Regions from separate parts of the Homo sapiens genome. Here all the other regions are linked to region 1. The links are contacts of gene promoters, found by promoter capture Hi-C in human tissues and cell types (Jung and others, 2019). All regions are on one chromosome and are shown on one strand. The core of a region is centred on a gene start or on the middle of the fragment in contact, and the rest is flanking DNA. Distances in the headings are between cores, read along the strand shown. Region 1 holds the start of VPREB1 (V-set pre-B cell surrogate light chain 1). Region 2 has its middle 16 kb from the start of TOP3B. Region 3 has its middle 42 kb from the start of TOP3B. Region 4 has its middle 71 kb from the start of TOP3B. Region 5 overlaps LOC102724653 (a long non-coding RNA gene). Region 6 has its middle 130 kb from the start of TOP3B.

Evidence for each region. The method cuts DNA at HindIII sites, captures the fragments that hold promoters and counts their contacts. A contact is called where the count stands out against the background at its distance.
Region 2: a fragment that was not itself captured here is called in contact with the fragment with the promoter of VPREB1 in region 1 in 1 of the 25 tissues and cell types used here (dorsolateral prefrontal cortex).
Region 3: a fragment that was not itself captured here is called in contact with the fragment with the promoter of VPREB1 in region 1 in 1 of the 25 tissues and cell types used here (spleen).
Region 4: a fragment that was not itself captured here is called in contact with the fragment with the promoter of VPREB1 in region 1 in 1 of the 25 tissues and cell types used here (IMR-90 fibroblasts).
Region 5: a fragment that was not itself captured here is called in contact with the fragment with the promoter of VPREB1 in region 1 in 3 of the 25 tissues and cell types used here (lymphoblastoid cells, mesendoderm cells and spleen).
Region 6: a fragment that was not itself captured here is called in contact with the fragment with the promoter of VPREB1 in region 1 in 2 of the 25 tissues and cell types used here (dorsolateral prefrontal cortex and mesendoderm cells).

The regions. Positions count from the first base shown.
Region 1 is chr22:22,242,714-22,247,763 of GRCh38, forward strand. VPREB1 (V-set pre-B cell surrogate light chain 1) reads left to right here and starts at 2,073. Exons shown (of 2, transcript NM_007128.4): 1 at 2,073-2,146; 2 at 2,233-2,802. The coding sequence starts at 2,101. The coding sequence ends at 2,624. It also overlaps IGL. The HindIII fragment of the contact is 13,267 bases long and covers 1-5,050 here.
Region 2 is chr22:21,995,974-22,001,023 of GRCh38, forward strand. It overlaps the pseudogene PRAMENP. Among named protein-coding and RNA genes, the nearest start is that of TOP3B, 16 kb to the left of the region's middle. The HindIII fragment of the contact is 5,385 bases long and covers 287-5,050 here.
Region 3 is chr22:22,022,723-22,027,772 of GRCh38, forward strand. It overlaps the pseudogene PRAMENP, IGL and the pseudogene IGLVI-70. Among named protein-coding and RNA genes, the nearest start is that of TOP3B, 42 kb to the left of the region's middle. RefSeq lists an enhancer at 2,602-2,781 and a silencer at 3,882-4,001. The HindIII fragment of the contact is 3,317 bases long and covers 1,435-4,751 here.
Region 4 is chr22:22,051,390-22,056,439 of GRCh38, forward strand. It overlaps IGL. Among named protein-coding and RNA genes, the nearest start is that of TOP3B, 71 kb to the left of the region's middle. The HindIII fragment of the contact is 5,123 bases long and covers 1-4,563 here.
Region 5 is chr22:22,090,833-22,095,882 of GRCh38, forward strand. It overlaps LOC102724653 (a long non-coding RNA gene), which reads right to left. Exons shown (of 3, transcript XR_938059.3): 2 at 3,792-3,903. It also overlaps IGL. Among named protein-coding and RNA genes, the nearest start is that of TOP3B, 110 kb to the left of the region's middle. The HindIII fragment of the contact is 5,829 bases long and covers 1-5,039 here.
Region 6 is chr22:22,108,483-22,113,532 of GRCh38, forward strand. It overlaps IGL. Among named protein-coding and RNA genes, the nearest start is that of TOP3B, 130 kb to the left of the region's middle. RefSeq lists an enhancer at 2,781-2,860 and a silencer at 3,181-3,250. The HindIII fragment of the contact is 8,065 bases long and covers 1-5,050 here.

The DNA.
Region 1 (5,050 bases), core at 823-3,322:
CTCCAGGGGTCTGAGACCATCTCCAGCAGGGTCTGGAAGGCCCAGTCATTCCCCAGCACGCACAGTCACCACTGGATACTATCTTGCTCTGTGAGTGATGCAAAGGTCCTGGGTCAGTGAAGCCTGTGAAAGAAAGTTGGGACCAGAGTGTCTCTACGGTTGAGGGCTGGGCTTATTTGCTCTCTAAGTATAATTGTAAGAGCAAGTAGAAACACCTATCCTCTCTGAGCTTAAAAGGATCAAAAAGCTCTGACAGTGTCAGTGGTAGGGCTAGTTCAGGGACTGCAGTAGTGCTGGTGCCCACAGGTGGAACCTTCTCCTGCCCTGATTCCCAAGGACTGGTGCTCTCGGAGGGGTCTGGGAGGTATATTTCTCTTTCACAAATACGTGCACAACACATGAATGAGCTACTGGATGAGGGAATAAATGAATGAATGAGTGAAAAAAGCTTCCTTTCTCCTCTCCAGGAGTCAGCAGTCACTGGTTAGTTCCCCACTGCCCACCAGCCTGTGCAGAGGAGGGAGGAGCAACAGGTCATAGATGTGGTTGCAGCTGTTACTGGACAGAGTGGTCAAGACATCCTGTGTCTGCAGAGGCCCTCCCCAGCCCTCACCTGGGCAGTGGAGCTGTTGGCCAGAGAGGCAGTGGGAAGAAGGGTGGGGCTCCCAGAGTCGACCCTGCGGGCTGAAACTGGTGCAGCCTGCACCTCACCAGGCAGAGAATGGATGTGGGGCAGCTTGACACCGAGCAGGGGCTCATCTGAGCCTCAGGGGTGGTTGCTCTATCAAAGTGTTTGCAAGTAAACAGTCCCAGTGCACACCCAGCTGCTCAGTGCCACCTCGTGCACCCAGGGACACTTCAGCCTTGATCACAGGCCTGCACAGGTTCCAGGGGAGGAGACACTCCAGCTTTTTGAGGGAGGGTGAGCATGTGGGATCAGAGACTTTAAGTCCAAATTTCCCCTTAATTTTTTTTTAAATCTTGCAGGTAGTATGCAAACATACATTTAATGTATTATTTTTATTCTCATTTTTTTTTTGAGGCAGGGTCTCCCTCTGTTGGCCAGGCTGGAGGGCAGTGGTGAGATCTTGGCTTGCTGCAGCCTCAACTCAACCTCCCAAGCTCAAGTGATTTTCCCACCTCAGCCTCCCAAGTAGTTGGGACTGCAGGTGCCTGTCCGCCATGACCAGCTAATTTTTAAATTTTTTTTGTAGAGATGGGGTTTTGCCATGTTGCTCAGGCTAGACTCGAACTCCTGAGCTCAAGTGATCCTCCCACCTTGGCCTCCCAAAGTGCTGGGATTATAGGTGTGAGACACTGCATCCGGCTCCCAAATTTCCCCTTTTTATAAGGACACCAGTTGTACTGACCGGGGCCCCACCTCTATGACCTCATCTAACCTTCATTAACTCCTTAAAGGCCCTATCTCCAAATACAGGCACACTGGGGGTTAGGGCTTCAACCTATGGATTTGGGGGATGCAATTCAGTCTATCACAGTGCCAAGCTGCACCTGCTCGGTGAGCCAGAACAGGGGTGGGGAAGGCACCAGGCCCTGGTGCTTCTTTCCCATGCCTGAGTCACTCTACTTGGTTCTAGTAGGGAGAGGAGCATGGGCCGAAGGCAGTGCTGCAACATGGAAGGGGCAGAACATCCCAACCCGCTCTGGGCCCCCAGTGTCTTCTGCTGTACAAAGCAGGTGTTTTCACCCCCCGAGGATGTGTCCTCCCTTCCTGGCTCACCAAGCATTTAAATGTAGACAGAAAATTTATTTATCTGGGGTGCGGTTTCCTCAGGGGGAAGTTGAGGTCACGACCCCTGAGGTACCTTAACCCAAAGGCCTCCAGGGCACTGGCCCCAGAGTCTCCAGCAGGTGCTTCCTCCCTGAATGCTTCCATATGGCAAGATCAGAGCCACAAATGCTGCCCCGACGCTGTTCCGGTAACCGACGTTGCAGACCCAAGAAAGTCTGGGATGGTAGTGGCCAGGAACGGGGTGTGCCACGGCCCCACCTCTCAGAGCAGGGAGGAGGATGCTGGGCCAGCCCTTGGGGACCCCAGGCACCGTGGCCACAGGAGTCAGAGCTCTGCATGTCTGCACCATGTCCTGGGCTCCTGTCCTGCTCATGCTGTTTGTCTACTGCACAGGTGAGGGAACCCCCAGATCCCAAAGACTCCTGCCCCTTCCTTCATCCTGCCCTGCCCCCACGGCCCACATGCATCTGTGTCACCAGGTTGTGGTCCTCAGCCGGTGCTGCATCAGCCGCCGGCCATGTCCTCGGCCCTTGGAACCACAATCCGCCTCACCTGCACCCTGAGGAACGACCATGACATCGGTGTGTACAGCGTCTACTGGTACCAGCAGAGGCCGGGCCACCCTCCCAGGTTCCTGCTGAGATATTTCTCACAATCAGACAAGAGCCAGGGCCCCCAGGTCCCCCCTCGCTTCTCTGGATCCAAAGATGTGGCCAGGAACAGGGGGTATTTGAGCATCTCTGAGCTGCAGCCTGAGGACGAGGCTATGTATTACTGTGCTATGGGGGCCCGCAGCTCGGAGAAGGAGGAGAGGGAGAGGGAGTGGGAGGAAGAAATGGAACCCACTGCAGCCAGGACACGTGTCCCTTGAACTGAAGACAGCAGAGGCACGCATCCCCTTGGAGAGACTGTCATGGAAGAGGGTGGAGTCGCCGCCCGAAGCGCCGAGGAGGCTGAGCCACTCAGCATCTCCTGGTCCTGCAGTGTTGCTGTAAATCCCCATTGGAGACTGCATTAGGGAATTAAAGCTGCTTGTCACTTTTTGCTGAGTTTGGTCTGACTGTTGTGCGACTTCGTAGTACCAGCCTTGGGCAAAGGCCCGGGGCCCCGGGAGACTGGCAGATCACTGTGGTGAGCACTCACCTGAGTCCTTACTTTTGTGGGCCATGGGAGGCAAGGGGTTGACCGAAGCACCCTGGAGGGGCATCCATGCCCAGGACAGGACCCTCTGGTGTCATCTGATTCTGCCCAGCGGTTACAGGGCAAACAAGCTTAGAAAGCACCTGGTCTGGGCCTCCAGGGAGAACAGGAGCCAGGTAATAGGCCTAGAGTGGGTTCTCCACCTTGGTCCTATCGACGTTTTGGGCTGGACAGTTCTTGGTTGTGGGGCTGTCCTGCGGATTGTTGAATGGTGAGTGGTTATCTGTGGCCTCTACCCACCAGATGCCCCTTCCCAGTTGTGACAAACAAAAATGTCTCCAGACATTGCCAAATGTCCCCAGGTGGTAAACTCACACTGATTGTGAACCACTGGTCTAGATGAGCAAGTAAATGCATTTACTTATTTGTACAAGAGAGTGGCAGGTGTCGGCAAACATGTTCTTTTTTTCCTTTTTTTAGGGATAAAGTCTTGCTCTGTGGTCCAGGCTGGAGTGCAGTGGTGCAATCATAGCTCACCGCAGCTTCAAACTCCCAGGCTCAAGTGATTGTCCTGTCTCAGCCTCCTGAGCAGCTGAGACTACAGGCGTGCATCACCATGCTTGGCTATTTATTTAGTTTTATTTTTGGAGAGATGAATGTCTCACTATGTTGCTCAAGCTGATCTCAAACTCCTGAGCTCGAGTGATCCCCCTGCTTGGGCCTCCTAAAGTGCTGGGATTAGAGGCGTGAGCCACTGCACCCAGCCCATTTTCTATAAAGAGCCAGGTGGTAAATATTTTTGGCTTTGTGGGCTATGCGATCTCTGTCACAACTGTTCAATTCTGTCCTAGTAGCAAGAAAGCAGCCACAGACAAACATGTCAACAAAGAGGCATGGCTGTGTTCTTATAAAGCTGTATTTACAGAAACAGATGGGGCTACACTGGGCTGGGTATGGCGCCCAGGCTGTAGTTTGCTGAGCCCTGCTCGGGAGCACTCCAGCTCCTGTCTCCAGGTTTTAAGCAAGCCATGCTTGGTGGGATAATCAGAGTCCCCCCTCAACTTATCTTGCCTGTGACCCCAGGCAGAAGCCTCTGGACCCATGGAGATACCTAGAGGCATGAAGGACGTGGTCTCACTGAGACTGTGTTGGACTGTCTGGGTGAAGTAGCAATGGGGAGCTCCCTGCAGCCCCGGCCCACAGCAAGGCCCCCTGAGCCCGTGGGTGGTGGGTCTGAGTGTGCCTTGCGGAGAGGGACTCTCTACATTGGGTGTTCACACAACCTGTAGACATGCCTCACTCAGAGAGGTGCCGGGCAAACCATCTCCCTTGTAACCCCAACTTGCCTGGGAACGTGCATTCACCCCAGCTAAAAAGATCCTGAGGCATCTCCCCAGAGAGGTGGACACATGTCAGTATCAGCGTTCCATGTGTGGTCATGAGTCCCTCTCTTGTTAAACAGTGGTCTCCAGCACTTTGGGAGGCCGAGGCGGGTGGATCACCTGAGGTCAGGAGTTAGAGACCAGCCTACCCAACATGGTGAAATCTCATCTCTACTAAAAATACAAAAATTAGCTGGGTGTGTTGGCACATGCCCGTAATCCCAGCTACTTGGGAGGCTGAGGCAGGAGAATTGCTTGAACCCAGGAGGCAGAGGTTGCAGTGAGCCGAGATCATGCCACTGCACTCCAGCCTGGGTGACAGAGCGAGACTCCATCTCACAAAAAAAAAAAAAAAAAAAAAAAGAGACAGTGATCTCAGCTTATGCCATACTCTATGCACTGGGTTCTTCCTGCATCAGGCTTTTACCCCTGGGCCAGGCCCACATTTTAAAACATTATTATTTACTTGTTTATTATTTTATTTTAGAGATAGGATCTTGCTATGCTGCCCAGGCTGGACTGCTGTGGCTATTCACAGGTTCAATTCATGATGCTCTACAGCCTTGAACTCCTGGGCTCCAGCGATCCTCCTGTCTCAGCCTGCTGAGTGGCTGAACTACACGTGTGAGTCACTGCACCTGGCCATGGCCCACAGTTTTAAAGACCAGCTAGATGGTTCCAGAGGAACTCTGTCTTCTGCTTGTAACCCGTCCCTCTCTTGCCTCCATCCTTCATGATTCTGGGATTCCATGCTATGAGAAGAGATCTAGAAAGC
Region 2 (5,050 bases), core at 1,729-4,228, 250 kb before region 1:
AGCTGCCCTCAGAGTCTAGCATCCGGGCATCTCAGGGCCCACCTCCTGTCACTCCCCTCACTATTCACTCTGCACCAGCAACCTACACTGGACTCCATTTCTCTCCTCAAACACCAGCAACGCCCTGCTTCAGGGCCTTTGCACTTCCTGTTCCCTCTGCCTAGAAGTGTCTTCTCCCAAATATCCTCATGGCTGGCCCCCTTACTTCATTCAGGTTTCTGTTAAAATTTCACATGAGAGGCCTTCCCTGACCACCCAAGTAGAATAGCACTCCCATCCCTTAATTACAGCTTTATCTTTCCTAATCTGATTTACAGCACTTCTTATATCACCAGTTTTCTGTTTCTGTCTCTCTTATACACATACACATACGCAGACACACACATGCGTGTGCACATAAATGCACACAGTCGTATATTATCTGTCTCCCCTCTGCTAAATTATAAGCTCCATGAAAAAAGGGGCTGTGTCTGCTTTCATTACTGCTGTAGTCTGAGTGATAAACATAGTTCCTGACATACACCAGACAAGCAGGATATATTTTAAATGCATTTCAAGAGCAAGTTTGCACAATACACGCTTACCACAATCCCACTGATGGAGTTGAGGGTAATGTGGAATGGAGGTTTTTTTTCTATGCTCTCACAGAGCATCAGGTTCAGGTTAGTTATGGATTCTTTCAACTGCCCAAATTCCTCTTTTTTTTCTGCCCAGTGAAATGCGGGAGTGTAGCCCCATCCCATCACTTTCCACGGTCCACCACAGAGCAGGGCTTTGTGCAAGGAGGGGGATGTTCTAGACCTGCACTGTCTAATGTGGGAGCCCCAAGCCACATGTGGCTACTGAGTACTTGAAATGTGGCTAGCATGACTAAAGGACTGAATTTTAAATTAAATTAAATTCTAATTAATTGCAATCTAAATAGCTTCATGTAGCCAGATGCTACACTTCTGGACGGCAGAGTTCTAGGATCTATGCTAGTCAGAGACAAGAAACATTCATTCACAGTCTCACAAGCTATGAAATCTATTTGTATGAGGCCACTACGGCCTTGGCAACAAACTGGGCAAGGACAGAGGACAGTATAAGAAAGGACAATTATTGGCCAATCATACATAGGAAGCTATCTAGCAAAGGCTTAAATACTAGCAAATCAAATCAAACGCCTGGCACACTAAATCTATAAATATCTCTTACAAATAGTGATCAAGAACGATTGAGCAAGAATGGTTAATGTTAGGTTTATTAATTATTAATGTCAATGCATTTGAGAAAATCAAAGAAGAAATAGAAGGCAAGGTTCTGAACCTGATATTTAGTAGTGGTGTTTTATAAACATTGCTTTTTTTTTTTGAGACGGAGTCTTGCCTGTCGCCTAGGCTGGAGTGCAGTGGCACAATCTTGGCTTACTGCAAGCTCCACCTCCTGGGTTCACGCCATTCTCCTGCCTCAGTCTCCCGAGTAGCTGGGACTACAGGTGCCCGCCACCACGCCCGGCTAATTTTTTGTATTTTTAGTAGAGACGGGGTTTCACCATGTTAGCCAGGATGGTCTTGATCTCCTGACCTCGTGATCCACCCGCCTTGGCCTCCCAAAGTGTTGGGATTACAGGCGTGAGCCACCGCGCCCAGCCAACATTGCTTTTAAAGTTAGAAACAAGATGAAGATGGTGTGGCCACCATGAGAGTGTGCCCTGCACCTCCAACTCAGGAAATGCACCTGAACCAAGGGCCCCACCCACTGCCCTTAGGAATCCCTGGCAGCCTTAAGGCCCAAGTCACACCACCACATGCTGCTCACCAACAATGACTGGGGACAGATCAGTTCCTGGGAGACAATGTGACAGACTAGTTCCTGGGAGACATCACTCCTCTGACAACCACCTTTGGCTTCAGGACTCCCTGATAGCTTTGCTAAATCTTCCTGAGTGCACACGTTTCCACCCAACCTTCCCTCCAGTTCTGCTTCACCAAACACAGCGATGTAGGTCAGTGGGGTCTCCATGCCTTCCCGCTCACCCCTCAATGCCCCTCATAGGGGGCTCCCCTAGTAAAAATCCTTGGATGTTTTTCCATCTTGGTATCTGCTTCTAGCAGGACTTTGATGGAGTTTAGGATGTGCCTTCCCAAAATACAGCAACTTGGCATACTGAATATTTTAAGCTGAAGGAATTTGAGAAATGGCATGGGCAGGCAGGATTTTCTGACCTTCCCCTGTAGTAGGTATAAGACCCTCCTGTGAGAGGTACTCCCCCTATACAGGAAGGAAAGGCATATCCTTATTTCCAAAGATGAACGCTTGCCAAGAGGGATCTGAACACACAGGCCCGCTGTTCCGCCATTTTATTACACTTGGCTCATACTCTCATACTTCTTTTGTCTTATCATTATTTCTCCATGACTAATCAAAATTTTTTTCTCTCTCTATATATAAACATATATATATAATATATGTGTGTGTGTGTGTGTGTGAGAGAGAGAGAGAGAGAGAAAGACAGAGAGACAGAGAGAGACAGAGAAAGAAAGAGAGAGGGAAAGAGAGGAGCTGTATCATGGGTATTTTTGTTGATGTCTGAATTAGAAACAAGCATGCACACTATCAACATTGTTTGGGAAAGTTGTAGCCGGTGCAGTAAGACACATAACAATAGGGTTGTCTAGGGCAATAAAAAGAGGCAAACGATTATGTACATAGTGTAGGAAAAAATGGTGTTGCGGCTCAGAATGTCACCCCGAAATACGGAACTTTGAAGGTGTCTCTCTGACTTTTCCCTGCCTTTCTGTGTGAGAGCTAGTCATAAAGGAATTCTTTGACCTTCCTTTCCTGAAAGTAGGCAGTGAGACCTCCACCCCATGTGACAGGTGTCCTGTCCTATTACCAGGAGGAAAGAAATGCTACACAGAGGGGCCAAGAAGAATCTGAATGAACAGGCCTTGCTAAGTTCTCCCCAGCTTATTACCATTAGACCACAGGTTTTTTGTCCAATCATACTTGTACATGACTGTCCATCCTTCATCAAACCTAAGCATACATATATACAGATAGTCAGGTGCAGTGACATGCACCTGTAATCCCAGGTACTTGGGAGGCTGAGGCAGGAGGACTGCTTGAGCCCAGGAATTCAAGGCCGGTCTGGGCAATACAGTAAGATCCCAGTCTCTAAAAAAAATTTTAAATTAAGAACTACAGTTCTCCCTGGGTCTTTGAGTCTTCATTTCTGAAGGTTCCTGTATCACGCAAAACTTTGATACATTTGTTATGGTGTCCTCTTGTTAATCTGCCTTTTTAAAATAGGGGTATCAGCAAAGACCCTTGAGATGGGTGAGGAAAAGCTATGATTTTTTCTCCTCTACAGTGGAAAGCAATGGATCCTCTGTAATGTACCCTTCTGGGTTATCAGATTTGAGTCCTGTTCATTATCTTTGAGCTATTTTTTAACTTTATAAGTTGTAGGTAACTGATAGACATATAAATTCTGTCTGGTCTGGTAATGATTTTCTCCTAACTTCTACCTGTGGAAAATTTTGTCTCCATCTGAAATTCATCTCAACATCCCTTCATGTCATATAAATATGTGCTGTCTTAACTCTTCTTTAACATCTGCCTGGTACTTCATATTATATGAGTAAAATAAATTCTTTAATACATGTTCATTTCTATATCTGTATAAAGTCACAATTCTACTTTTCTGAAAATTATCTTTTAACAATTGGAAGCTAAAAAGGATAAAATAGGAAACAGTTAATATAATTAATAGGAGTATTTCTGCTGATGTGACTGCACAAGAGTGCCCAGTATTTCCAGCAAGAACTGAGCTGTAAATGTATAATGGCAGAAGTAATGTAGATGTATGAAATAAACTATTCACTCACTTTTTTCTGTCATCTAGGGATGACAATAAATGTGAAAACAGTATTAAGAATTAAAAAATTAATGTAATGGAGTAAAATTAATAAATGGAAAGATGTAAATGGATGAGGAGAGCAAATATTGAAAAGATATAAATATTGTTATAGTTAGGACATTTTAAATAATGTCTAATTATGACTTTAATCTAGAAGAAATAACAAAAACAAAACTAAGAGAAGACTATTGAAGAGATACTAATGTGAAATTAATTCAAACTGGCTGGGCGTGGTGGCTCATGCCTGTAATCCAGCACTTTGGGAGGCTGAGGTGGCTGGATCACCTGAGATCAGTTTGAGACCAGTCTGGCCAACATGGTGAAACCCTGTCTCTACTAAATATACAAAAAAGAAAAAATTAGCCATGCATGGTGGTGCATGCCTGTAATCCCAGCTACTCGAGAGGCTGAGACAGGAGAATCACTTGAACTCGGGAGGCAGAGGTTGCAGTGAGCCAAGATCCGGCCACTGCATTCCGGTCTGGGCGAGACAGTGAGACCCTGTCTCAAAGAAAAAAAAAAATTCAAACTTAAAGTTACTGGAAATTGAAATTATTCTGAGCCTTGAGAGAAATGTGGCTATGTGGCCTGAGTCATGTAATATGCAGCTGCAACTTCTACTTCTCTGATTTAAATCAACTTTCTTCCTTATTCTTGTACTATAGAAAATTAGGAAGACCTAATGGCACCGGATATAGGACCCCTTCAGATCACTACCTCTTCTCAGGGAGTAACAAAGTAATCTTTCTTGGAATATAGCATTCTATAACCAACCAAATCACTGTAATGAATGCACTGGTTTTGTATGGAAAACTCTGCAATCCTGCTAAAATTTCTCTGTCTCTGCCTACATAAGTGAAACCTTAACTTCACTGCTTTGGAACGCTGACCCCGTTCATCTGGAGTTAGTGTTTCCTGGGTGGCTATACTCAAGCTTTGTGCGCAAATAAACTCTATATTTAATCATGTGTTCTGATCTCACTATTTAACATTAACACTAATATTACCATATGTTTACATAAAACAATATTATGTTGACCTGAGAACAGAAATCAATCCGTGAAAACACATAGAGCAAGCTCTCCCAAGAGCTTGTAGAATTATTGAAGGATCTGATTTTCATTATCCACAGAGCCTGACCATAGG
Region 3 (5,050 bases), core at 1,843-4,342, 220 kb before region 1:
CCTCTGCAGAGGGTGGGGAAGAAAAGGATGCCTGGGGCAGTCCAGCCCCACGGTGTGGTGGGGTCAGGGGCTGTGTCCACCATGGACTTGACTCCTCCCCTCCTTGTGATCCTGTCTCACTGTACGTGTCGGGACGGGCCTCAAAGACCAGCCTACATCAGAAACTTTGACTGAGGCCCCTGAGAAATGTTACCCTGAACTCTGCCTTAGTATCTGGATGTGTCTTTTCACCTGATAGAGTTATAAAGATTTTCCCAGTTAAAAACAAAAGCAAAGCTCTGCCAGACTCGTGTTCGTGGCTCCAAATCTGCTTCAGCCACTGAGCAGGAGCTGAGAGGGAAGAGAGAGAGAAGAACACAAGATCCATATGGGGAAGGATTTCTATGAGGGTGTGGCAGTGAGAGCGGGTGGCAAGTTGCCAAAGAGGCCTAAGCCACAGAAGTGGGTTTCATGTGGGACTTTCGGAATGAGCAGGAGGGCGATGGGTGGAGGGTGAGGGTCAGAAGATTCTAATCAGAGGTGAGAACCCAAAGATGAGTTATTGGTCATTCAAGTCAAACAGTGAAATTACCTTGGCCTGTGCCTCCAGTCAGTGGAGCAGGGAAGGGGCCAGGATGTGCTTCCTGCAGGTGTTACTGGAAAGGGGTCCTGATTCAGATCCCAAGAGAGGGTTCTTGGATCTCATGCAAGAAATAATTTGGGAGGAGTCTATAAAGTGGAAACAAGTTTATTAAGACAGTAAATGAATAAAGGAATGGCTACTCCATAGACAGGGCAGCACCAAACACTGCTGGTCGGCTATTTGTATAGATAGTCCTTGATCATATGCTAAATAAGGAGTGGATTATTTATTAGCTTTTCAGGAATTCTTTTTAAAAATATAGACCACATAAGGTAACTTGTGGATGTTGCCATAGCATTTCTAACTGTGAGGACAACCAGAGGTCACTTTCCTCACCGTCTTGGTTTCAGTAGGTTTTGGCCGGCTTCTTTAGCGTATCCTGTCTTATCAGCAGGGTCTTTATGACCTGTATCTTGTGATCCCAGTCTGGTTGACTTCCTAGCTCATCCTGTGACTAAGAATGCCTAACCTCCTGGAAATGCAGGCCAGCATGCCTAAGCCTCATTTAATCAAGCCCCTATTCAACATGGAGTCACTCTGGTTCTAACACCTCTGACTTAGGGTGGCTGCAGAGCTGGAGGTGCAGATTGGGGCAGATCAGCCTCCTGAGAAAAGCACACAGAGCCACTGCGGGGCTGTGAGGTGGGAGAGATGAACTCACATTGGCATTTGATCAGTGACTCTCCAGCTGTAATGAGAATAGAATGGAGAGGCCTGGGACAGGAAGACAGGATGTGGTTGCTCATGCCATCCTGGTGGGAAGATCTAGGTGAGTTACTGTGGGGTAAAGAGGAGAGAGCAGATTCCTTGTCACTTTATGCTGTAGAATACATTGGACATGGAGAGGGCTTGGAGCTTGTGTGTGAGAAAAGCAGATCTATCTCGGCTGACTCCCAACAAACTGGCTGAGAATTTAGATGGAGGATTATTATTAAATAAAAGAGGAAGACTGAAATGAATATTGTCATCGTATTTTTTTACCCAGGGTTGGGATAGGTGGAAATGTGTGTGTGTGTGTGTGTGTGTGTGTGTGTGTTTAAATATTCACTAATTTTTCAATTCAAAAATATTTACTGCGTGACTACTAAGTAATAATATTATACAGGTTTTAGCGTTACCATGGAGAATCAAATTGTCAAGGTCACAGGCATCTTTTTGTTTTGTGTGGATCACTGTGAAAGATACTATGCTAAATTTTTTCTGAATCATGCAGATGAAAGCATTAAACACATACACAAACATTTACGTTTGTGTGTGTGTTGTGTGTGTGTGTGTGTGTATGTGTAATCTATCTCAGCATACAATGCCACTGAAACTACACTTGCGGATTAGGTCCTCGGAAAAATAATCGTGTTAACATTCACGATGCAAATAGAATGGTACCTGACACAAAGTAAGTGCTATAAAAGAATACTTGAGGCTGGGCGCGGTGGCTTATGCCTGTAATCCCAGCACTTTGGGAGGCCGAGGCCGGTGGATCACCTGAGGTCAGGAGTTTGAGACCAGCTTGGGCAACACGGTGAAACCCCGTCTCTACTAAAAATACAAAAATTAGTCAGGTGTGGTGATGGGTGCCTGTAATGCCAGCTACTCGGGAGGCTTAGGCAGGAGAATCGCTTGAACCTGGGAGGCGGAGGTTCAACAAGAGCAAAGCCCATTCTCAAAAACAAAAAATTTGAATGGTTAAATCACATTGGACTGTGAGTAAAGGGCTTAGACAAGGTGTCTCGGAACTTTTGGGTCATCTTCTTGATCTTTCCATAAAACTCTAACCCTTCTATTCTTAACCTCCCCCATTCCCAATTTCACCCTGATGTGCACATCCTACCTGGTGCCTAGTCATCCCGGTGGCCCCTCTCTGGGCTGTATCTAGGGAGAGTGGTGACCTTGGTCATCTTCCTCAGGTCCAAGTATCCATAAGAGAAGCAGACTTTTCTCTCTTTCATAATGATGGTCTCTTCTTGAATAATTTCCCTGTGCATTTTCATTAAGGGTCTCACCCCATCAAGGGTGTGATGAGGACAGTGATGAGGGTCACGGAGCCCGGCCTCCCACGGGGGGATGTGGGGTATGATGAGAGAGAGAAGCAGGTGCCCTCAGGCCCATATGGAGGCTGGGGAGGGTTGTTAACCCTCCTGCCCTCCTGGCCACTGGGTGCAGGACATGTTCTCTCTGAGGCTCACTCACCTATGGCCCCAACCACACAAAAATCTAAATGGGGAAGAAGCAGAGGATGACTTCATGCTGAGGAGGCCCATCTTGCAGCGAGAAATGTGCTGTGGTGAGCACCTGCAGCACAAAGAGCCTGGGGTGGGGGTGGAGGGGCGTGAGCGCTGCCTCTGTGTGGGGATGGTGTGCGCAAGGCAGTGCTGAGGACCTTCAAGCCAGTCAGGAATGAACCTGGGCTCTGAGACAGTGGAGGGAAGTGTGGCCTGTCCCTGAGGGTCTGTGGGGGTTTCAACTGGGAAACCAGGCCCTGGACCCCTACCCTGGGCCCTCTGCTCTGTGCTTTCTGGGGCCCAGCAGCTGGGACCTCCCAGGAGCAGAAGAGGCTCCTCTAGCCCCACCCCACACTCAACTTTCCCCAAGTTCAGGCCCAGGGATAGCAGGGGGAGGGGTGTGATTTGCATGAAGGGTGCTCTGTGCCCTCTTAGGAGGAGAGGATAAGAGAGACTCTGTGCAGTTCTGCTCAGCTGTGGGCTTAGGAAGCAGAGCCTGGGGCATCTCCACCATGGCCTGGACCCCTCTCCTCCTCCAGCTTCTCACCCTCTGCTCAGGTGACTGCCTGTGGAATGCCAAAGTGATTATTGGGGACACATGGGATGACTTTTCTCTTATATTTTAACATTGTGGGGTGGGTAGTGAACCCAGACTCACCTCTCTGTGCCTGCCTCCTCTGTTCCAGGGTCCTGGGCACAGTCTGCGCTGACCCAGGAAGCCTCGGTGTCAGGGACCGTGGGACAGAAGGTCACCCTCTCCTGTACTGGAAACAGCAACAACGTTGGAAGTTATGCTGTGGGCTGGTACCAACAGATTTCTCACGGTGCTCCCAAAACTGTGATGTTTGGAAATTCTCTGCCCTCAGGGATCCCTGACCGCTTCTCTGGCTCAAAGTCTGGGACCACAGCCTCCCTGACTATCTCGGGCCTCTAGCCTGAGGACGAGGCTGATTATTACTGTTCAACATGGGACTACAGCCTCAGTGCTCACACAGTGCTGCAGGCACATGGGGAACCGAGACAAAAACCTGCCCTTGGCCTGTCCCGAGGCTGATCACTCCATACTTGCCTATGACAAACAAAGAGGGTGCCTGTGGCTGATCGTACAGTTTAAGCAAGGGAGGAAGTGAGACTCAGCCACAGGCCCCTGCAAAGGGTCAGCGGGCCTTGTTCCCACATTGTCTCTATTTGAAAAAGTGAGATAAATTTCACTTCGTATAAAATGTACAATTAAATTGTCTTATTGTGTTTACAGAATTATGCATCTATCACCATAATCTAATTTTAAAACGTTTTCATCACCCCACAAAAAAACCCCCACAATTAGCAGCCACCCTTCACCCTTTCTCCCCAGCCACTGGTCATTGCTAAAGACTTTCTGTAAAGAACATGCATTTAAAGACCTAAGAAACTCAGTGATGCCAAACAGCTAGGTTTTTCAAATGCCCAAGCATGTAATAATAGATTACTGAAACCAAAGATAAAGACACAATTATGAAAGCAGACAGAAAGCTTTATAATATATACAGAAAATCAACAATTCAAACAATGAGAGGTATTTTATGAGTATACATTGAGGCCAAATGGCAGTGTTATGTTCTTACAAAGTCAAAAGAAAGAAAGAAAGAACTGTTGAGTCATAATGCTATATCCAGGTAAAGATTTTTTTTTTTTAAAAAAGGTAAAAAATAAGACTTTGTCAGATGAAGAAAACCTGAAAGAATTCATCTAAAAAAAATCAAAACAAATCAACTCTAAGAGAAAATTTTCAGGTGGAAGATAAATGATAATGGAAACATTGAACCCAAAGAATGCAGGAAGAATAACCAATAAATATAGTAGTAAAAGACCAAATTTTTAGCTCTACAGTTCTGGAAAATATGCATATCAAAAGCTAAGTTATAGCATTTTTGATATAATTTCTACTTATGAAAAATATTATATATACATATATACACATATATACATATATATACACACACACACACACACACACACACACACACACACACACACATATATATATATACATGAAACTTCAACCAAAAGAAGGAACTGTAAGGGGTCTACATGACTGGGAAAATATTAGGCCTATTATTAAATCTAAATAGATCATGAATAGTTACATGTACATGTTGTAATCTTTACAGCAACCAATGTAAAACTGTGCAGAGATACCAATATAAAATCAATATAAAAATCAAAAGAG
Region 4 (5,050 bases), core at 752-3,251, 190 kb before region 1:
TCTTTGCTATTGTGAATAGTGCCATAATAAACACACACGTGCATGTGTCTTTATAGTAGCATGATTCATAATCCTTTGGGTACATACCCAGTAATGGGATGGCTGAGTCAAATGGTATTTCTAGTTCTAGATCCTTGAGGAATCACCACACTGTCTTCCACAATGGTTGAACTAGTTTACAGTCCCACCAACAGTGTAAAAGCGTTCCTATTTCTCCACATCCTCTCCAGCATCTGTTGTTTCCTAACTTTTTAATGATCAACATTCTAACTGGTGTGAAATGGTATCTCATTGTGGTTTTGATTTGTATTTATCTGATGACCAGTGATGATGAGCATTTTTTCATGTCTGTTGGCTGCATAAATGTCTTATTTTGAGAAGTGTTTGTTCATATCTTTTACCCACTTTTCAATGGGGTTGTTTGCTTTTTCTTGTAAATTTGTTTAAGTTCTTTGTAGATTCTGGATATTAGCCCTTTGTCAGGTGGGTAGATTGCAAAGATTTTCTCCCATTCTGTAGGTTGCCTGTTCACTCTGATAATAGCTTCTTTTGCTGTGCAGAAGCTCTTTAGTTTAATTAGATCCCACTTGTCAATTTTGGCTTTTGTTGCCATTGCTTTTGGTATTTTAGTCATGAAGTCTTTGCCCATGCCAATGTCCTGAATGGTATTGCCTAGGTTTTCTTCTAGGGTTTTTTATGGTGTTAGGTCTTTTTTTTTTTTTTTTCTTTGAGACAGAGTCTCGCTCTGTAGCCCAGGCTGGAGTACAGTGGCGTGATCTCGGCTCACTGCAAGCTCCGCCTCCCGGGTTCCTGCATTCTCTTGCCTCAGCCTCCCAAGTAGCTGGGACTACAGGCACCTGCCACTGCGCCCGGCTAATTTTTTTTTGTATTTTTAAATAGAGACGTGGTTTCACCGTGTTACCCAGGATGGTCTCGATCTCCTGACCTTGTGATCTGCCCGCCTCGGCCTCCCAAAGTGCTGGGATTACAGGCGTGAGCCACCGTGCCCGGCCATGGTGTTAGGTCTTCATTCAAGTCTTTAATCCATCTTGAGTTAATTTTTGTATACTGTGTAAGGAAGACATCCAGTTTCAGCTTTCTACATATGGCTAGCCAGTTTTCCCAGCACCATTTATTAAAGGGGGAATCCTTTCCTCATTGCTTTTTTTAGTCAGGTTTGTCAAAAATCAGATGATTGTAGATGCGTGGTGTTATTTCTGAGGCCTCTGTTCTGTTCCATTCGTCTATATATATGTTTTGGTACCAGTACCATGCTGTTTTGGTTACTGTAGACTTGTAGTATAGTTTGAAGTCAGGTAGCATGATGCCTCCAGCTTTGTTCTTTTTGCTTAGGATTGTCTTGGCTATGCAGGCTCTTTTTAGGTTCCATATGAACTTTAAAGTAGTTTTTTCCAATTCTGTGAAGAAAGTCAGTGGTAGCTTGATGGGGATAGCATTGAATCTATAAATTACCTTGGGCAGTATGGCCATTTTCATGATATTGGTTATTCTTATCTATGAGCATGGAATGTTCTTCCATTTGTTTGTGTCCCCTTTTATTTCATCGAGCAGTGGTTTGTAGTTCTCCTTGAAGAGGTCCTTCACATTCCTTGTAAGTTGGATTCCTAGGTATTTTATTCTCTTTGTATTAATTGTGAGTGGGAGTTCACTCATGATTTGGCTCTCTGTTAGTCTACTATTGGTGTATAGGAATGCTTGTGATTTTTGCACATTGATTTTGTATCCTGTGACCTTACTGAAGTTGCTAATTAGCTTATGGAGATTTTGGGCTGAGATGATGGGGTTTTCCAAATATACAATCTTGTCATCTGCAAACGGAGACAATTTGACTTCGTCTTTTCCCAGTTGAATACCCTTTATTTCTTTCTCTTGCCTGATTGCTCTAGCCAGAACTTCCAACACTGTGTTGAATAGGAGAGGGCATCCTTGTCTTGTGCTGGTTTTCAAACAGAATGCTTCCAGTTTTTGCCCATTCAGTATGATATTGGCTGTGGGTTTGTCATAAATAGCTCTTATTATTTTGAGATATATTCCATCAATACCTAGTTTATTGAGAGTTTTTAGCATGAAGGGCTGTTGAATTTTGTCGAAGGCCTTTTCTGCATCTATTGAGGTAATCATGTGGTTTTTGTCGCTGGTTCTGTTTATGTGATGGATTACATTTATTGATTTGCATATGTTGAACCAGCCTTGCATCCTAGGGATGAAGCTGACTTGATCGTGGTGGATAACCTTTTTGATGTGCTGTTGGATTTGGTTTGCCAGTATTTTATTGAGGATTTTCGCATCAATGTTCATCAGGGATATTGGCCTAAAATTCTCTTTTTTTGTTGTGTCTCTACCAGGCTTTGGTATCAAGATGATGCTAGCCTCCTAAAATGAGTTAGGGAGGATTCCCTCTTTTTCTATTGATTGAAATAGTTTTAGAAGGAATGGTACCAGCTCCTCTTTGTACCTCTGGTAGAATTCGGCTGTGAGTCTGTCTGGTCCTGGACTTTTTTTGGTTGGTAGGCTATCAATTATTGCCTCAATTTCAGAACCTGTTATTGGTCTATTAAGAGATTCAGCCTCTTCCTGGTTTAGTCTTGGGAGGGTGTATGTGTACAGGAATTTATCCATTTCTTCTAGATTTTCTAGTTTTCTTGTGTAGAGGTTCTTATAGTATTCTGATGGCAGTTTGTATTTCTGTGGGATGGGTGGTGATATCTCCTTTATCATTTTTTGTTGTGTCTATTTGATTCTTCTCTCTTTTCTTCTTTATTAGTGTTGCTAGCGGTTTATCAATTTTGTTGATCTTTTCAAAAAACCAGCTCCTGGATTCATTGATTTTTTGAAGGGTTTTTTGTGTCTCTATCTCCTTCAGTTCTGCTCTGATCTTAGTTATGTCTTGCCTTCTACTAGCTTTTGAATGTGTTTGCTCTTGCTTCTCTAATTCTTTTAATTGTGATGTTAGGGTGTCGATTTGAGATCTTTCCTGCTTTCTCTTGTTGGCATTTAGTGCTATAAATTTCCCTCTACACACTGCTTTAAACGTGTCCCAGAGATTCTAGTACGTTGTGTCTTTGTTCTCATTGGTTTCAAATAACGTCTTTATTTCTGCCTTCATTTCGTTATGTACCCAGTAGTCATTCAGGAGCAGGTTTTTCAGTTTCCATTAGTTGAGTGGTTTTGAGTGAGTTTCTTAATCCTGAGTTCTAGTTTGATTGCACTGTGGTCCGAGAGACAGTTTTTTGTGATTTCTTTTCTTTTACATTTGCTGAGGAGTGTTTTACTACCAATTATGTGGTCAATTTTAGAATAAGTGCGATGTGGTGCTGAGAAGAATGCATATTCTGTTGATTTGGGGTGTAGAGTTCTGTAGGTGTCTATTAGGTCTGCATGGTCCAGAGCTGAGCTCAAGTCCTGGATATCCTTGTTAACCTTCTGTCTCATTGATCTGTCTAACATTGACAGTAGGATGTTAAAGCCTTCCATTATTATTGTGTGGGAGTCTAAGTCTCTTTGTAGGTCTCTAAGGACTTGCTTTATGAATCTGGGTGCTCCTGTATTGGGTGCATATATATTTAGGATAGTTAGCTCTTCTTGTTGAATTGATCCCTTTACTATTATGTAGTGGCTTTCTTTGTCTCTTTTGATCTTTGTTGGTTTAAAGTCTGTTTTATCAAAGACTAGGATTGCAACCCCTGCTTTTTTTTTGCTTTCCATTTGCTTGGTAGATCTTCCTCCATCCCTTTATTTTGAGCCTATGTGTGTCTTTGCACATGAGATGGGTCTCCTGGATACAGCACACTGATGGGTCTTGACTCTTTATCCAATTTGCCAGTCTGTGTCTTTTAATTGGGGCATTTGGCCCATTTACATTTAAGGTTAATATTGTTGGGTTTGAATTTCATCCTGTCATTATGATGTTAGCTGGTTATTTTGCCTGTTAATGATGCAGTTTCTTCATAGCTTCAATGATCTTTACCATTTGGCATGTTTTTGCAGTGGCTGGAACCTGTTGTTCCTTTCCATGTTTAGTACTTCCTTCAGGAGCTCTTGTAAGGCAGGCCTAGTGGTAACAAAATCTCTCAGCATTTGCTTGTCTGTAAAATATTTTATTTCTCCTTCACTTATTAAGCTTAGTTTGGCTGGATATGAGATTCTGGTTTGAAAATTCTTTTCTTTAAGAATATTGAATATTGGCCCCCACTCTCTTCTGGCTTGTATGGTTTCTGCTGAGAGATCCACTGTTAGTCTGATGGGCTTCCATTTGTAGGTAACCTGACCTTTCTCTCTGGGTGCTTTTAACATTTTTTCCTTGATTTCAACCTTGGTGAATCTGACAATTATGTGTCTTGGGATTGCTCTTCTTGGGGAGTATCTTTGTGGTGCTCTCTGTATTTCCTGAATATGAATGTTGGCCTGCCTTGCTAGGTTGAGTAAGTTCTCCTGGATAATATCCTGAAGAGGGTTTTTTTTTTTTGGTTTTTTTTGAGACAGAGTCTCCCACTGTCACCCAGGTTGGAGTGCAGTGGTGCGATCTTGGCTCACTGCAAACTCTGCCTCCTGGGTTCCCACCATTCTCCTGCCTCAGCCTCCCGAGTAGCTGGGACTACAGGCACCCACCACCATTCCCGGCTAATTTTTCATATTTTTTGGTAAAGACAGGGTTTCATCATGTTAGCCAGGAGGGTCTTGATCTCCTGACCTCATGGTCTGCCCACCTCGGCCTTCCAAAGATCTGGGATTAGGAGGCATGAGCCACCGCACCTGGCCCTGAAGAGTGTTTTCTAACTTGGTTCCATTCTCCCCGTCACTCTCTGGTACAACAATCAAACATATATTTGGTCTTTTCCCGTAGTCCCATATTTTTTGGAGGCTTTGTTCATTTCTTTTCACTCTTTTTTCTCTAATCTTGTCTTCTTTGTTTATTTCATTAATTTGATCTTCAATCACTGATATCGTTTCTTCCACTTGATTGAATCGGCTATTGAAGCTTGTGCATGCGTCACGAAGTTCTCATGCCATGGTTTTCAGCTCCATCAGG
Region 5 (5,050 bases), core at 875-3,374, 150 kb before region 1:
GAGTGAGATCCCATCTCAAACAACAACAAACAAACAAACGAACAAAACAAACCAAAAAAGCACACACAAATAAACAAACCAAAAAACATGTCCCTAATAATATAATCTATATAAAATATAAATTAGCAGGACTAAGGAAGAGAAAAGAATCAATTCCCAATTATAGTTATAAATAATAGCACACACTTCTATTAACTGAGTGAATCAGCAGAAAAAAAATTGCACATAACAATATGTGAACAACCTGAAAAACCAAATTCACCCACTGACGCCAGGAGCCCAAACCTGAGGAGTAGTTGGCTAATGAATATGTATTACTGAAACGATTGAATAAGTGCTAGAAGAAATAAATGAGGCATTCATTATTTTTACCCGATTTGATGCTTCTCCTCTCTGTCCTGTGAGCAGGGGGCACTCCCATGTCTATTCCTAGTCCCATTCTTATCCCCTCGTCTCTCTCCCCAAGACTGAGCTGCATTCTGCAGGGTGGCTCCCGTCCCCCTGGAGTAAATGACTGACGTGAGGAGCCCTGCCTTCCAGTGCTGCTGTTTTCATCGTGCTCTGGTTTGAATGTCTCCCTTCCAAAAGGATTTATACTTAATTGCCAGTGTGATAGTACTAAGAGGTAGGCCTTCAAAAGGTGATATAGTCTTGAACACGGAGACCTCACGGTTGGGATCAGGTCTCTTATATAAAGGCTGGAGGTAGCGGTGTGCTCTGTCTCTCTTCTTGCCATGTGAGGACACAGAAAAAAGGCACTTATCAGATGACAGTGCCTTGATCCTGAACTTCCCAGCCTCAAAAACTGTGAGAAGGCCAGGTGCGGTGGCTCATGCCTGTAATCCAAGCACTTTGGGAGGCCAAAGCAGGTGAATCCCTTGAGTCCAGGAGTTCGAGACCAGCCTGAGCAACATGGTAAAACCCCATTTCTATAAAAAATACAAAAATTAGCCAGATGCAGTGACAGGCACTTGTAGTCCTACCTAATCAGGAGGCTGAGGTGGGAGGATCACCTGAGCCTGGGAGGTCGAGGCTGCAGTGAGTTGTGATTGTGCCACTGTACTCCAGCCTGGATGACAGAGCGGGAGACTGTCTCAAAAAATTAAAAAATAAATAAATAAAAAATAAAACAGTGGGCGAGATAAAGAAAATGTGTTACTTATATACCACGGAACACTATGCAGCCATAAAAGAAAGTTATGTTCTTGGCAGCAACGTGGATGGAGCTGGAGGCCATTATCATAAGTGAACTAAGCCCCGAACAGAAAACCAAATGCTGCATGATCTCACTTATAAGTGGGAGCTAAACTATGAATATACCCGAACATACAGAAAGGAACAACAGACACTGGGAATGACTACCAGACCAAAAAAAAAAAAAAAAAAAAAGAGGATCCACCCTGTGGATCCTCTGCCCACTGCCTGGGTCATGAGGTTGTTGGGACCCCAAGCCTCCGTGTCATGCAATCAACAGATGTAACTAACCTGCATGTGTACCCTTTAAACTAGAATAGTAAGAGTAAAGAGCATTGAAAGAAAAAGTCAAGATCAGAAGCGAAGAAAATAATAAATGAAAAAACACAATCTATAGTTATCCAAACAATCCATGACTGTCACAAACACAGAACAAGGACCCAGTGGACAGAATGAGGCAGCCAAATACTCAACCCAACATGATACATAGGGAACACATTTTTCAAAACACCAAAAAGACACAATGGGAAAGGGAGAGTCTGGTTCAAGAAGTGATTTTGAGAAAACTGAATATGCACATGCAAAACACTGAAATAAGACCTTTGCATTGCACGATACACAAAATCAACACAAAATAAATTAAAGACCTAAACTCAATCTTGAAACTGCAAAGGTCTTATAAGAAAACATAGGTTGGGTGTATATTTTAGGAAGCCTGTATCTATGCACACAGGCTGCAAAAGGTGAAAAATAATCATAACACTAAAGGGAAAATTAGGGGAACTACATGCACAGACAATGCAATGGCTTGGCTATATATGTGTGTGTGTATGTGTGTGTGTTTTGTAGGGTGGAGGTTTGGATACAAAAATTACAGCTAACATGCAAATATAAACAAAGACACTAGTGACACTTTAGAACTTCTACAGGGGGAAAGAAACAATGAAATAAACAAACAAACAAAATGCATCCTAAAGACTAGGAGAGAATTATGGAAAGTCCTACCTCTGAAAGAGATTGTTATCTAACACCTACAATAAACTCACTCTACTAAATGAAAAACAACAAAAACAACAACAACAAATACCCAAGCTAAGAGGATCTGAATAGACATGTGTGTAAAGAAGACAGGAAATTGACTCACAGGTTAACAGTTTCTCAATATCACTAATCCTCACAAAAAAGTGAATCAAAACCATACTCAGGTACCATATAATTCCAGTTAAAATGAATATTGCAAAAGATAAAAATAAAAATTGTTGGAGGTGATGGCTGGTGTAGAATTGCAGGAAGGAAAACTCTTGTACGCTCTTTGTGGGAATGTAAATTAGTATACACACTATGCAAAACTGTTGGAGGTTCCTTAAAAAAGTAAAAGGTCAAAGTACAACCACCACTCCAGGTTAACAATCCCACCACTGGGTACACATTTAGAGGAAACAAAATCCCTGCATTGAAGAGGTATCTGCCTTCCCATGTGTCCTGAAGCACTAGTCACAATAGTCAAGATATGGAATCAACCTAACTGTCCATCCACAGATGAAGAGATAAAGGAACTGGATATATACATGATGGAAAGCATTTCAGCCATAACAGTTTGGGAAATCATTGATCTGCAGCCATGTGGAGAAACCTGGAAGACAATTAGGGGAAATGAAATGAGCCTGTTAGAGAGAGACCCATACTGCATGACATTAGGCAAATGGAATCCAAAAAACACTGTCTTCTAGAAGCAGAACTTTCAATAGGGGTTACTAGAAGCTGGAGAGAGGAGGGGGCCTGGGCAGGGATTGGTAATGGGTACAGAGTAACACTCAGAGGAGAGGAATCCATTCTGATGTTCTATTCCACAGCAGGGTGACCAGGGTCAACAATGTCTAGGGGAATTTTTCAAAAACAGCTGGAAAGGATGGTTCTGAATGTTCTCTCCACAGGGAAATAATAAGAAGCCAGACACCATGATTTGATCATGACACTACGTATACATATATCAAAATGTCCCTTGCACCCTCTGGTTATATACATACACTCTATAGTAATGAAACTGCCATCAAATGTTGGTAGTATTCATTCTAACTGGAGTGACATAGAATCTGAGTGTGGTTTTCAATCATGTTTTGGTGTGAATCGGCCATGTTGATAATCTTATCTTTTACCTGTGCATCAACCTCATGTCTTCAGGTCCTCTGCCCACTTTTACACATCAAATTCAAAACAAATTAACAATAACATGGCAAATATAACTAATCACACACACACAGAAAATGAAAACCACCACTCAGATTCCATCTCACTCTAGATGGAATGGATACTACAAAAAAAAAGTTGAAAAATATTAAAAGACAAAAAAACGATGGTGTGGATTTCCAGAGGGGGAACTTGTCTCCGCAGTTCGTAGGAACATAAACTAGTACACACACTAAAGAAACCACTTGGAGGTCCCTCCAAACCTTAAAACCACAACTACCATTTCATCCAGCAATCTACTACTAGTCGTATATACAGAGTACATGAAATCAAGCCATGGAAGAGATTATCTGCGTTCCCAGGTGGAATCCAGCACTATGCAGAATGGCCAAGATGAGAAATCAGCCGACCTGTCCATCTGCAGATGAAGGGATAAGGAAACTGTCCCATGCGTAGACACTGGAATACTCTTCAGCCAGAAAAATACAATGAATTCCCATCACGGGAGCCACACGGTTGCACCTGGAGGACATGATGGTAAATGAAATGAGCCAGGCAGAGACAGACAAACTTTGCATCCTCTCACTCATGCAGAAGCTGAGAAACTTTATCTCAAAGACCTAGAAAGCATAATCATGGTTACCAGAGGTTGGGGGGAAGAAGGGGAAGGGGCAAGGATTGGAAAGGGGTAGAAAGTTCCACACAGATGAGAGGAAGGAAATTCTGTTTTTCTATTCCACAGCAGGGTGACTAGGGTTAATAGCATCATTACATCTTCAAAACAGCTTGAAAGGAGGATACTGAAGCTTCTCGCCACAAAAGAATAAACAGTGGTACGAAATAACAGAAAAAATAAATACCCTGATTTCGTCATTCCACAATGTATGCAAAGACCAAAATGTCGCACTCTACCCTCTCATTGCATTCCTTTACTATTCAGCAAATTTGTTTAAAGAAATATAAATACATGATGCTAGAATTCACATGGGACCATGAATCACCCTGAATTTCTTCCAAAGCAATCCTGAGACATTCAGACTACATCAGATGCATCTCACCCACCGATTTCAAATTTCATGGAAAAACTGGGTACCTGCTTCCACACAGAGCAGTGGAACACAAGAGAGGGCCCAGAAGTAAACTCACACACCAAAAACCATCTGATCCTTGACAGAATCCACAACAATAAGCAAGGGGGAAAGGATGCCCTATTCAAACAATGGTGCTGGGATAAGTGGTTAGCCATATGCGGAAGAGTAACACTGGGCCCCGACCTCTAACCAGACACAAAAAGAAACTCCAGATGAATGAAAGATTTAAATGGAAGACCTCAAACTATTAAAATCCTGCAAGAAAACATACAAAATACCTTTCTCCACACAGGTTTTGGCAAAGAATCTATTTGGCTATGTCCCCAAAGGAAATGACAACAAAAATGGACAAGCCATGCTTAATACTCTAAAGAGCCACCACACAGCAAAATAAATTAGCAACAGAGTAAGAGACAGCATACAGAGTGGGAGAACATGTTCCCAAACTGCATCTGATCAAGGTCTAATATCCAGAATCTTCAAGGATCTTATGCCAATCATTCAACAAAAAACAACAAAAAAATCCCATTAGTGTATGGGCAAGGGATGTGAACACACACTTCTCATAGGACAATGTG
Region 6 (5,050 bases), core at 1,438-3,937, 130 kb before region 1:
TCAGGATATTGCAGAAATATTTGCACATTTTTATTCATGCAGCATTAATCACAATTTCAAAGACATGGAGACAGCATAAGGTCCACTAATCATTGAATGTTTACAGAAAATGTGGTGTATAGCTGCAATGGATGCTGTTCAAATTCAAGAAGAATTAGGCCGGGCACGGTGGCTCCCGCCTGTAATCCCGGCACTTTGGGAGGCCAAGGCGGGCGGATCACAAGGTCAGGAGTTCAAGACCAGCCTGACCAATATGGTGAAACCCCGCCCCTACTAAAAATACCAAAATTAACTGGGTGTGGTGGCAGAAGCCTGTAATTCTAGATACTCAGGAGGCTGAGGCAGGAGAATCTCTTGAATCCGGGAGGCAGAGGTTGCAGTGAGCTGAGATTGCGCCACTGCACTCCAGCCTGGGTGACAGAGTGAGACTCTGTCTCTCAAAAAAAAAAGAATAATTAAATTTTGCCATATGCAGCAACAGGGAAAACCCTGGAGGATATTACACTGAGTGAAATAAGCCAATCTTAGAAGGGGAAATGCTGCACGGCCTCATTTATATGAGGTATCTAATTTTTTTTTTTCGAGACAGAGTTTTGCTCTTGTCACCCAGGTTGGAGTGCAATGGCGCGATCTCAGCTCATTGCAACCTCCACCTCCCGGGTTCAAGCGATTCTCCTGCCTCAGCCTCCTGAGTAGCTGGTATTACAAGTGCCTGCCACCACACCTGGCTAATTTTTGTATTTTTAGTAGAGACACAGTTTCACCATGTTGGCCAAGCTGGTCTCGAACTCCTGACCTCAGGTGATCCGCCTGCCTCGACCTCCCAAAGTGCTGGGATTACAGGCATGAGCCACCACGTCCGGCCTATAGGAGGTGTCTAATATACTCAACCGAGCAGAAATGGAGTAGAATGCTGGTTGCCAGGGGTAGGGAGAGAAGGAAATGGGGAGTCACTGCTCAAGGGCTATGAAGCTTTAGGTTTGCAAAATGAACAAGTTCTAGAGATGTGCTGTACAACACTGTGCTTACAGCTGACAACACTGTATTATGTACTTAAAATTTTATTCAGAGGGTATATCACACATTAAACGTTCTTATTAACATGAAAAAGGGATAGAAAATACCATGAAACCACTTACAGAAAGCAAGTATGGCAATCCTCTGTCCTTTGTCTTGGGAGAAAGTTTTGGCCAAGAGACAATTTAGGCAAAAAAGAGAATTTACTGAAGAAAAACAGAGAGCAAATAGTTTATTTAGAGAGACAGTGTACTCTGGAAGATAAGGCAGAGCGGGCTGCTGATAGAGAATGAGCCAGCGGCCCGAGAAATGTGCACTGAGTTTTTATGATATTGCACTTTTTCTTGGAGTTCCCACCTCTGTTTTAAGTCTCCACCTTTTTTTCTTTCTCTAGTTTTTCTGCTTCAGCCTTAAGTCCCTGCCTTTTCCCCACATAGTTTCCAGCCCAGGCTGTGGGACCCTCCCTTAACACACACATGGGCCCAGTGTTTGATAGGAATTCTACCTAATGGCTGCATTGCTCATTACTGCCACCCCAGGAAGGTTGTATGGTGGTCAAATCTATACTTACTGTACCTGCATCTCTCTTAGAAATTTCTCCTTTGCTCTCACCCCTATTATCAGCATGCAGCTAGCTACATTCTGACAGGTTAACTTCAGAGTGAGTGAATACTGGGTGTCTTAAGGGGCTTTGTTCTGGCATAGGTATTTACCCTAATCTCTGTTCGTATCTAGCATGTGTGCTTTGGGTGGTCTCTGGGGTGTGAGATTTTCCAGAACTCCCTTTTCTCAGGGGCTGCCCCTCCTGCTTCTGTCTAGCTATCTGCCTACTCTAAAGTTAGTATTAGTATGAAAGCTTTTATGAAAAACATTTTTTTCCAAGAAAAGGGAGGCATTTTATACTGGTGAAATAAGGTGTTCAATGACAACACATAACAACTGTAAATTGTATGCACCTAATAAAATAGCTTTAAAGTATTTGAAGCAAAACTGTCTCTTTTAGCAGAATTAAAAAGAGAAATAATCAATCCATAATCATATACACAGATATTAATACAACTCTCTTATTAACTGAGTGAATGACATGGAGAAAAAAGAGTATACATACAAATACGTGAAAACCATGATTAACAAAATCAATCCAGTGACACCAGGAACCCAAGCCTGAAGGGTAGTTGCTTGAGTATGCATTCATGGATGAACGCATCCAATGAATCATCACAGGAACAAACAATTGAGGCCTTCGTTTATGTATTTCTAACTGATGTTAAGTTTTTCCTTCCTATTCTGTGAGTAGAGGTGGATCCCTGTGGAAGGAGCTGCCCGGGTCTTTGCTCCAGAAGCTGTCTGCATTCTCCCCTCACTGTAGCCTCGTCACATTAGGCCATTGTTATATTTCCCATATGTCCTTCTTCTAGTAATCCAGGAGCCCTCAATGAAAAGGCTGTTTATTAATACCAGTAGCTCAGGACAGAGCAGGGGCATGGCTCATGGATGGTTTGGACCAGGCCCTTAGATGACTGCACTCACATGATTCCCACTGAGACTGCAGTCTGGCCAGTGAGCAGCAGGGGCACTGTGGGTCTGTCTCACGGTCTGCACAGTGGCTATTCATAGCTGTGCCAACCCCTAAACTCCCCAGGGCTGGGCAGTGGAGCCTGCACTCACTGAAGCCGACTCAGCTGCTGCATCTTCTCTGGGTGTGGTTCCAGCACCCACTTCCTCCCAGGTCCTGCCAGACTCTCTCATCCACCAGTCCCCAGGTCTTGAATAAATGCATAGAGTGGGGTGGGGGCAGGCAGTGGGTGGGACACATTTGCATCCATAACCCTTCCTCTGTGAGGCCAGTGGAGGGGATAAGAGAGGCCTAGGGCAGCCACTCCAGCTCTGGACCTCGGGAGGGCTGTGTCCACCATGGCCGGGGCCCCTGCTCCTCCCTGCTGCTCCCCTCTCACTTATCAGGTAGGGACAGGCCTCAGATTCCTGGGAAAGCCTCCCAGTCTGAGTTCTTGCCCCGTGTTCCACTCTCACATTTCATCCCTGCTTACTCACCCATGAGCATTTGTGTTTGCAGGTTCCCCCCACCTCGGCCTGTTCTGACTCAGCCACCCTCCCTCTCTGCATCTCTGGGAAATTCTGAGGCTCACATTTACCCTGAGCTGTGGCTTCACTGCTGGTGGCTAGCACATATCCTGCTACCAGTAGCATCTAGGGAGTGCTCTCTAGTATCTCCTGAGAGATGATATATCTCCAGTGGGATAGATATCTCAAGAGTGGGCTCCTGATAAAAGGATAAAGTTCAACCCTATTTACTCATTTTCACACTCTTCTTTGCCCTTTTTCCCTGAGATAATGCAGCAGAAAGACCCTTGCCAGATTTCAGCATCTGCTTGTGGACTTCTAAGGTCACAGAAATCTCAACCAAATAAACTTTTAGTCTCAGTAAGTTACCCAATATATGGTATTCTATTGTATCAGAAGAAAATGGAGAAAATGGACTAGGACAGCACGTGTAGAACAGTCTGCTAATCTGACTCAAGTAAGCACCATGGCTCCAGGGTCCCCGGTCACTTTTCTAAATCTAAAGATGCCTCAGCCAATGCAGTAATTCTGCACATCTCTGGGCTGCAGCCAGAGGATGAGGCTACTACATATCTCAGCAGCCATGGCACTTCCACAGTGCTCCAGAACCCCAGGGAAGTGAGACTAGGACCTCCCCTGTGTTCTCTCTGCCTGGTGCAATCACCACTGTCCTGCCTGGGACCAACTCTGGCTCAGGGATTGATTCCTGTTGTTACTTTTTCAGCCAGTGTCTAATTTTCCTAGGATATATAGATGTAAAATGTGTTTTTTTCTTAAAATGTTAATTTGATATATTTTTCATATCTTTTCCCCTTATGATGCCTACAGTGGAGTAGGTCAGTTCTTAGAGCTAAGTTTCCCTCCAGGAAGATTACAGAAGAGGAAGGAGATGAATAACCTACACGTGCTGTCCTAGTCCATTTCCCCCATTTTCTTCTGATATAATAGAATATCATATGTTGGGTAACTTACTGAGACTAAAAGTTTATTTGGTTGAGATTTCCGTGGCCTTAGAAGTCCACAAGCAGATGCTGAAATTTGGCAAGGGTCTTTCTGCTGCATTATCTCAGGGAAAAAGGGCAAAGAAGAGTGTGAAAATGAGTAAATAGGGTTGAACTTTATCCTTTTATCAGGAGCCCACTCTTGAGATATCTATCCCATTGCCAGGATAAGGGCACTAATCCATTCATGATGGTGGAACCCTCATGACCTAATCACCTCTTAAAGGTCCTGCCTCCAATTACTTTTACCATGATAATTAAATTCTACCATGAGTTTTGGAGGGGATATTCAAACCATACACATGTCCAAACTAGGGCCTAGACCTGACTTAGAGATGTGTGTGGTCTGAGAACTTCTGATCAGCTGGTTGGTCCAGCATGCCCCAACCCCAGCTCCACTGACCAGCTCCAGGAGTGAGTGAGGTCACCTTCCTCACAACTGCTCATTCCAGCCTGTCTCTGAACTGTTCACTCCTCTTGAGGTTCAGAGGATGCAGGTCTTTGTGGTTCCAGGGATGTTGGGCAAACAGTCTTTTCCACAGTGGAATATGACTGTGCTTGTGACTTCGCAGTGTGCAGAGGACACTCAGCACCTGCCTCTCCCCACCGACTTTGTCAGGCCCATGATTATCACCCTCTCCTTCATCCCAAGTTCATCTGATACGCATGCCAAGATTTCAGTGAGGCTGGGGACACATAAGGATGATGATACTAAAATGAACAAGTTCCATTTCATAATAGTGGCAGAAGATCAGAGATCTGTAGGGGAGTTGTGCCCCCACTCTGAGTATTTAGGAAGCAACTCTAGGGACATCTTGCTCTGCTTCTCCCTTCTCTGCACAGGTGAAAGAAGGAGCCTGTGCAGACAATCGTTCATTAGAAGCTCCTGCCTTCTTCCTCTTTTCCACCCCCCAGGACTGGATGGGGCCTTTGTAATGGCTTCAAATTAT